Linked DNA regions of Homo sapiens: region 2 is linked to region 1. Evidence: promoter capture Hi-C in human tissues and cell types (Jung and others, 2019). All regions are on one chromosome and are shown on one strand. The core of a region is centred on a gene start or on the middle of the fragment in contact, and the rest is flanking DNA. Distances in the headings are between cores, read along the strand shown.

Region 1 (3,079 bases), core at 1-2,500:
AATACAAAAAATTAGCCGGGCGTGGTGGCGCGTGCCTGTAGTGAACCCGGGAGGGGGAGGTTGCAGTGAGTCGAGATGGCACCACTACACTCCAGCCTGGCAACGGACCAAGACTCAGTCTCAAATAAATAAATAAATAAATAAAAAGACAGTATCGTCCCAAAGCATGATACTGACGCTTTGACACATGATTGACGCTTGAGGCAAATGGAACAATCAGTACTACTAATCTTGCTCTTATTTAAAACTAAATTTTTCTTTTACCGTAGGCTCTTTTTTTGCCTCAACTTTGACTTTTAAAGGTATTACAGGCCAGGCGGGTGGCTCACACCTAAATCCCAGCATTTTGGGAGGCCGAGGCAGGAGGATCGCCTGAGCCCAGGAGTTTCAGATCAGCCTGGGCAACATAGTGAGACTCCCTCTGTACAAAATATTTAAAAATTAGCCGGGTGTGGTAGCGCGCACCTGTGGTCCCAATTACTCGGGAGGCTGAGGTGGGAGGACGCCGCTGCACTCCAGCCCGGGCAACGCAGCAAGACCCTGTCCCCCGAGCCCCCTAAATACAATTACATTAAAATGTCATTTGATGTCACTCACTAATGAGGTTTTTGGTTCCTCTTTAAGCTTCGCGCCCCAGGCGAGTGCGCCCGGTCAAGGTTAAAACCCTCGTTTACGCCCAGAGGCGCCTTCCTCAGCCTTGGGCCGCAGTCTCCCACCAGCACCTTCGGAGGCTGCCGGCGCCCGGATGCCCGGACCCCGGGGAACGACTCCCGCGCCCCCAGCCCCCGCCCGCACACACCTGGATCGGCAGATCGCAGAGCAGCGGGTCCTGCACCACCATAGCCAGACCCTCCTGGAACACGTCCATGGCCTCGGAGTGCGGCAGCGCCTCTTCTTCGTCCTCATCTTCCTCTTGCGCCTCGGGCCCACCCGCGGCCTCCGTCTCCTCCAGGGCCGCCCCTCTCAGCCGGGCTCTGCCCGCACTGCCAGCCCGCACTAGGGAGGCCAAGCGCGCACGCGCAGGAACTGCGGCCCGCCCCAGCGAGGCCGCCCAGCCACTGGCGCGCCGGGGGGGGTGGGGCGGCTGCAGTGACCAATGACAAGTGCGAGACAGCCTGCAGCAGGGCCGGGAGCGCAGAATCGCCCTGTCTATTGGTTGGTTGGTGTGGCGGGAAGGCTGCCAGGACCAATGTGAGCTCGAGGCGGGCGGCGCATCGGCGCTGAGCGGCAGTGGGAGCTGCCGGGAGTTGGAGCCTGCGGAGTTCGAGACCATGCTGCTGTTCTGCCCCGGCTGCGGGAACGGGCTGATCGTGGAGGAGGGACAACGCTGCCACCGCTTCGCCTGCAACACGTGCCCCTACGTGCACAACATCACCCGCAAGGTGGGACCCGAAGGCCGGCGCTGGGCGCGGGCGACTCTCGCAGGCCTTCCGCGTCCTCCGACTGCTGCTCCATCGCCGCCAGCCCCGGCGTCTGCCTCTGTCCGCTCTTTCTCGCGCCCCTTTCTGGTCTGCAGCAGATCTGTGGGCTCTACTTTCCAATACACTCAGAAAGCCCCACCGTTTCCCACCGCCTTGGGTTCCTGCTCCCACGCTCGCGCCCTTCTCTGCGTTCACAGCGGCGGCCACGGTGATTTCCTTAAAGCTGAGGCACGCAGGTCCGTGCTGTGCGCAGAAACCTTCGGCTCTTCTCCAGCTCACGCAGACGAAAAGCCGGAGTTCTCCCAGGGCCTACCAGGTTCCGACACTGACTCCCTCCCCTGCGTGCGTCTCCGATTTCAAGTCCTAATGCCCTTCCTGTTGCCCTTTGCCGCATCAACACCGCCTCCTGGACGATCTCTCATCGTGCTCATGGTGCTAGCAGGGCCTTTGCACTTGCTGTTGCTCAGTTCACTCTTCCCCTAGATCGCCACCTTACTCATTGGTCTTGTCTTTACCGTATTTTAAATTTCAGCCCCTCCTTCCAATTTATTCTCCTTCCCTTTGTAATTGTTTCCATAGGGCTTATTACCTTCTAATATATTATGTAATGTATTGTGTGCTTTCTTTATTTTTTTTTATTGTTTTTTTTTTTTTTTTTTTTTTTTTTTTTTGAGACGGAGTCCCGCTCTGTCGCCCAGGCTGGAGTGCAGTGGCGCGATCTCGGCTCACTGCAAGCTCTGCCTCCCGGGTTCACGCCACTCTCCTGCCTCAGCCTCCCAATTAGCTGGGACTACAGGCGTCCGCCACCACCCCTGGCTGATTTTTTTGTATTTTTAGTAGAGATGGGGTTTCACCGTGTGTTAGCCAGGACGGTCTCCTGACCTCGTGATCTGCCCGCCTCGGCCTCCCAAAGTGCTGGGATTACAGGCGTGAGCCACCGCGCCCGACCTTTTTTTTTTTTTTTTTTTTTTTTTTTTTTTTTTTTTTTTTGAGACAGAGTCTCGCTCTGTTTCCCAGGCTGGAGTGCAATGGCGTAATCTCGGCTCACTGCAACCTCTGCCTCCCGGGTTCAAGCAATTCTTCTGCCTCGGCTTCCCGAGTAGCTGGAATTACAGGCGCCTGCCACCATCCCCGGCTAATTTTTGTATTTTTAGTAAAGACGGGGTTTCACCGCGCTGGCCAGGCTGGTCTCGAACTCCCAACCTCAGGTGATCCGCTTGCCTTGGCCTCCCAAAGTGCTGGGATTATAGGCGTGAGCCACCACGCCTGGCCAGAATACCTTTACTTTTTAGCAGTTAGAATATGTTGGTGCTACGTCAGTCTTAATGTTTGCATGCTACTCCAGTTTGTACTGTGTTGTGGGAGTTTGGAGTTTGAAACTACGGGAAGAGTGAACTCTTTGTTTTTTTTTTTTTTTGAGATGGAGTCTTGCTCCGTAGCCCAGGCTGGAGTGCAGTGGTGTGATCTCGGCTCACTGCAAGCTCCGCCTCCCAGGTTCACACCATTCTCCTGCCTCAGCCTCCTGAGTAGCTGGGACTACAGGCGCCCGCCAACACGCCGGGCTAATTTTTTGTATTTTTAGTAGAGACAGGGTTTCACCGTGTTAGCCAGGATGGTCTCGATCTCTTGACCTCGTGATCCGCCCGTCTTGGCCTCCC
Region 2 (3,203 bases), core at 123-2,622, 350 kb before region 1:
TCTGAGGTCAGGAGTTCCAGACCAGCCTGACCAACATGGTGACACTCACCTCTACTAGAAATACAATTAGCCCAGCGTGGTATTGTGTGCCTATAGTCCCACTTGGGCGCACTGAGGCTGAAGCAGGAGAATTGGGAGGCTGAGGCAGGAGAATTGCTTCAACCCAGAATGAGACTCCGTTTCGAAAAAAAACTTTTTTTTTTTCCTGCAGAACACTCAGAGAGAATTGTCAATACCTGTCCTTGGAGAACATAATTTAAAACTTGTTTTCTTTTTTTGAGATGGAGTTTCACTCTTGTTGCCCAGTGCAATGGTGCGATCTCGGCTCACTGCAACCTCCACCTCCCGAGTTCAAGTGATTCTCCTGCCTCAGCCTCCCAAGTAGTTGGGATTACAGGTGTGCGCCACCACACCCGGCTAATTTTTTGTATTTTTAGCAGAGACGGGGTTTCACCATGTTGGCCAGGCTGGTCTCGAACTCCTGACCTCTGGTGATCTACCCGCTTCGGCCTCCCAAAGAGCTGGGATTACAGGCGTGAGCCACTGCTCCTGGCAAAAGATCAAAATTTTAATAGAAACTTGAAAATGTTGCCAATTGAAAAAAAGAAAAGGAAAAAAAAAAAAGGATCCGCCCATTAGCCGAGTGAGGGCAGGTGACCGGGGAGGATCGACCTTTGCCCGGGCTGCCTTCTCTTGTGAACACCAAGGCGTTTGCAGGAAAATGAAGAGCTGCTGGGCAAAACCTGGCATTCCTGGGCCTTCTGGGTCTTCCGGAAAAATGATTTCAACCTAAAATTTTCTGTTAAGAAAGAGGCCAGGTTGGGCCGGGCGCGGTGGCTCACGCCTGTAAATCCCAGCACTTTGGGAAGCCGAGGCGGGTGGATCACCTGAGGTCAGGAGTTCGAAAAGAGCCTGACCAACACGGTGACACCCCCTCTCTACTAAAAATAAAAATTAGCCGGGCTGAGGCAGGAGAATCGCTTGAACCCGGGAGGCAGAGTTTGCAGTGAGCGGAGATCGTGCCACTGCACTCCAGCCTGGGCGACACAGCGAGATTCCGTCTCAAAAAAAAAAAAAGAAAGAAAAAAGAAAGAAAGGAGCCAGGCAAGACAGGTTTCCTAACACGCGAGCCCTCGGGGACCACGTGGGGGCGCCGGCGCCCGCGGACCGGACCCCGCACCAAGGCTGCGCTCGCTTCCCAGGCCCCGCTCACCGCAGCAGGTCCGGGCAGAAGAGGTGGCGGTACGCGGGGAGACAGTCGTCCCCCTCCACGTCGGGCGGCGGCTGGGCCATGGCGCTCCCGTCGGGGACTGCGGGGACAACGGGCGGGAGCGGCCTCGGCCTCCAGGACCCGGCGCGCAGCTGCGAACTCGCCTGGAACCGGGAGCCCCGCCCCACTCCCCGGACGCCCCGCCCCTGCCCTGATTGCTTCCCGGAGGCCCCGCCCCTCCCCCGAATTCTCCCCGGAGGCCCCGCCCCCGCCCGCGGCCTGCTGGGACTGGAAGTCGGCGCGCGAGGCGCAGGCGCATTGCGGGGCCGGGGGCGCGGTTCCCGCGGCAGAAGCTCGGCGGTCTGCGGGTCTCCTCCCCGAGTCTTTTTCACAGGTATTCGGCGTCAGCGCCGCGTTCAGAGCCTCCAGGACTTGTGGGATACCCCTGGCTCCTGGGTCCAGGCCAGGCTCGCAGCCTCTGGGCTCCCCGTTCGCCTCCCCGTAAACACCATGGGGAGGGCCGGGGCCCAGGGAAGCGCGGCCAGCCCCGCGCCGCTTCCCAAAATGACCCGTTTTGAGGCCAATAAAGAAGGGTCCGGGGCCGGGCGCGGTGGCTCACGCCTGTAATCCCAACACTTTGGGAGGCCGAGGCGGGCGGATCACGAGGTCAGGAGTTCGAGACCATCCTGGACAACATGGCGAAACCCCCTCTTTACTAAAAATACAAAAATTAGCCGGGCATTGTGGCGGGTGCCTGTAGTTCCATCTACTCGGGAGGCTGAGGCAGGAGAATCGCTTGAACCCGGGAGGCGGAGGTTGCAGTGAGCCGAGATCGCGCCACTGCACTCTATCCTGGGCGACAGAGCGACACTCCGTTTCAAAAACAAAAACAAAAAAAAAAGGGTCCGTTACTTCTGTTCCGCGTGGGGGCCCGGGCGGGGCTATGCCGCGAACCCAGGACGGGGCGCCCCGCCCGCACCACTGTTGGAAGACGGGGGTCCGCGACGGCCACGGGGGAAAAACACGCAGGGCCGCTCCTGAGCTGAACACACCCGCGGGCCAGCGGCTTCAGGGGCGTGACAGAGCCGCCAGCGCTACAGTAATGGCTGCCAGGCCCTTTCTGCGCTGGTTGGCCTCAGCCCGCCGGCCCCTCTCTGCCCCTTCCCCGGGAAGGCAGCTTCTCCTTTGGCGGGATCACAGCACCGGCTCGCGCCTAGCTTGGGTTCTCCGGATTGCAGGCTGGTGGTCTCTGGACCCCTGCCTGGCTCATACATCCAACAACGTTATGGAACTGGGTGTGCAAAACTTCCTCTTTACTGTTCAACTCCTTACAACTTGCATAAAGGCGTCATTTCTACCTCAGAGCTGGGGGAAGTCATAATTAGTGTACCACCCATGTGCTGGGCACAGTGAATTTTAATGCCTCCCCTTTAGAGGAGAGGTTATGATAATGTGAAGACCCCCCCCCACCACAAAGGTTGTCCGGCACTTTGGTGCAAAAAGGATTGGTCCAATCTTGTGCTGGCTTGGGGTACAGAAAGGCACTGAAGTTGGTGGCTCAAACTCCTCTGGGCTGGGGTGGGGCAGAGGTGAACAGGGAAGTAAGTGGTTTGGGACAGGCAGGTTTGGATGTGGGCTTGGGTTCTTGCTGACGGAGGTAGTTGGTCCTGCGTGGGGGATGGGGTGGTAAGGGCAGCTTGAGCCTCAGGCTGGGTGGATGCTGCTGTGCTGGCCCCCGTCTGCCCAGCTCACCAGCTCACTGCTCTGGAACCACAGCTGGATCTCCCGCTGGGCCCCCTCCACGGAGTCGCTGGCGTGGATGACATTCCTGTGCCAGGACAGGAGCAATGTGAGGCTCAGGCTTCATGTGCACCCTGAGGAATCCCAGGGACCATCTGCTGCTCCCGTTGCCCTCTGTCTAGGGGAGCAAGCCTGTGACTGCAGACAGGGAAGGAGTAACAGTGGAGCTGGGAAACCGGGTTCCAGCCTGGCC

Evidence for each region. Contacts are between HindIII fragments. The study calls those that stand out against the background at their distance.
Region 2: a contact is called between the fragment with the promoter of DECR2 here and the fragment with the promoter of POLR3K in region 1, in 2 of the 25 tissues and cell types used here (lymphoblastoid cells and spleen).

The regions. Positions count from the first base shown.
Region 1 is chr16:51,779-54,857 of GRCh38, reverse strand. POLR3K (RNA polymerase III subunit K) reads left to right here and starts at 1,250. Exons shown (of 3, transcript NM_016310.5): 1 at 1,250-1,382. The coding sequence starts at 1,272. SNRNP25 (small nuclear ribonucleoprotein U11/U12 subunit 25) reads right to left here and starts at 1,030. Exons shown (of 5, transcript NM_024571.4): 1 at 800-1,030. The coding sequence starts at 841. RefSeq lists silencers at 680-779, 920-1,239 and enhancers at 1,570-1,729, 1,458-1,984. The HindIII fragment of the contact is 23,499 bases long and covers 1-3,079 here.
Region 2 is chr16:400,054-403,256 of GRCh38, reverse strand. DECR2 (2,4-dienoyl-CoA reductase 2) reads right to left here and starts at 1,372. Exons shown (of 9, transcript NM_020664.4): 1 at 1,214-1,372. The coding sequence starts at 1,293. It overlaps NME4 (NME/NM23 nucleoside diphosphate kinase 4), which reads right to left. Exons shown (of 5, transcript NM_005009.3): 5 at 2,503-3,038. The coding sequence ends at 2,915. RefSeq lists enhancers at 1,807-2,392, 2,240-2,549. The HindIII fragment of the contact is 11,138 bases long and covers 1-2,605 here.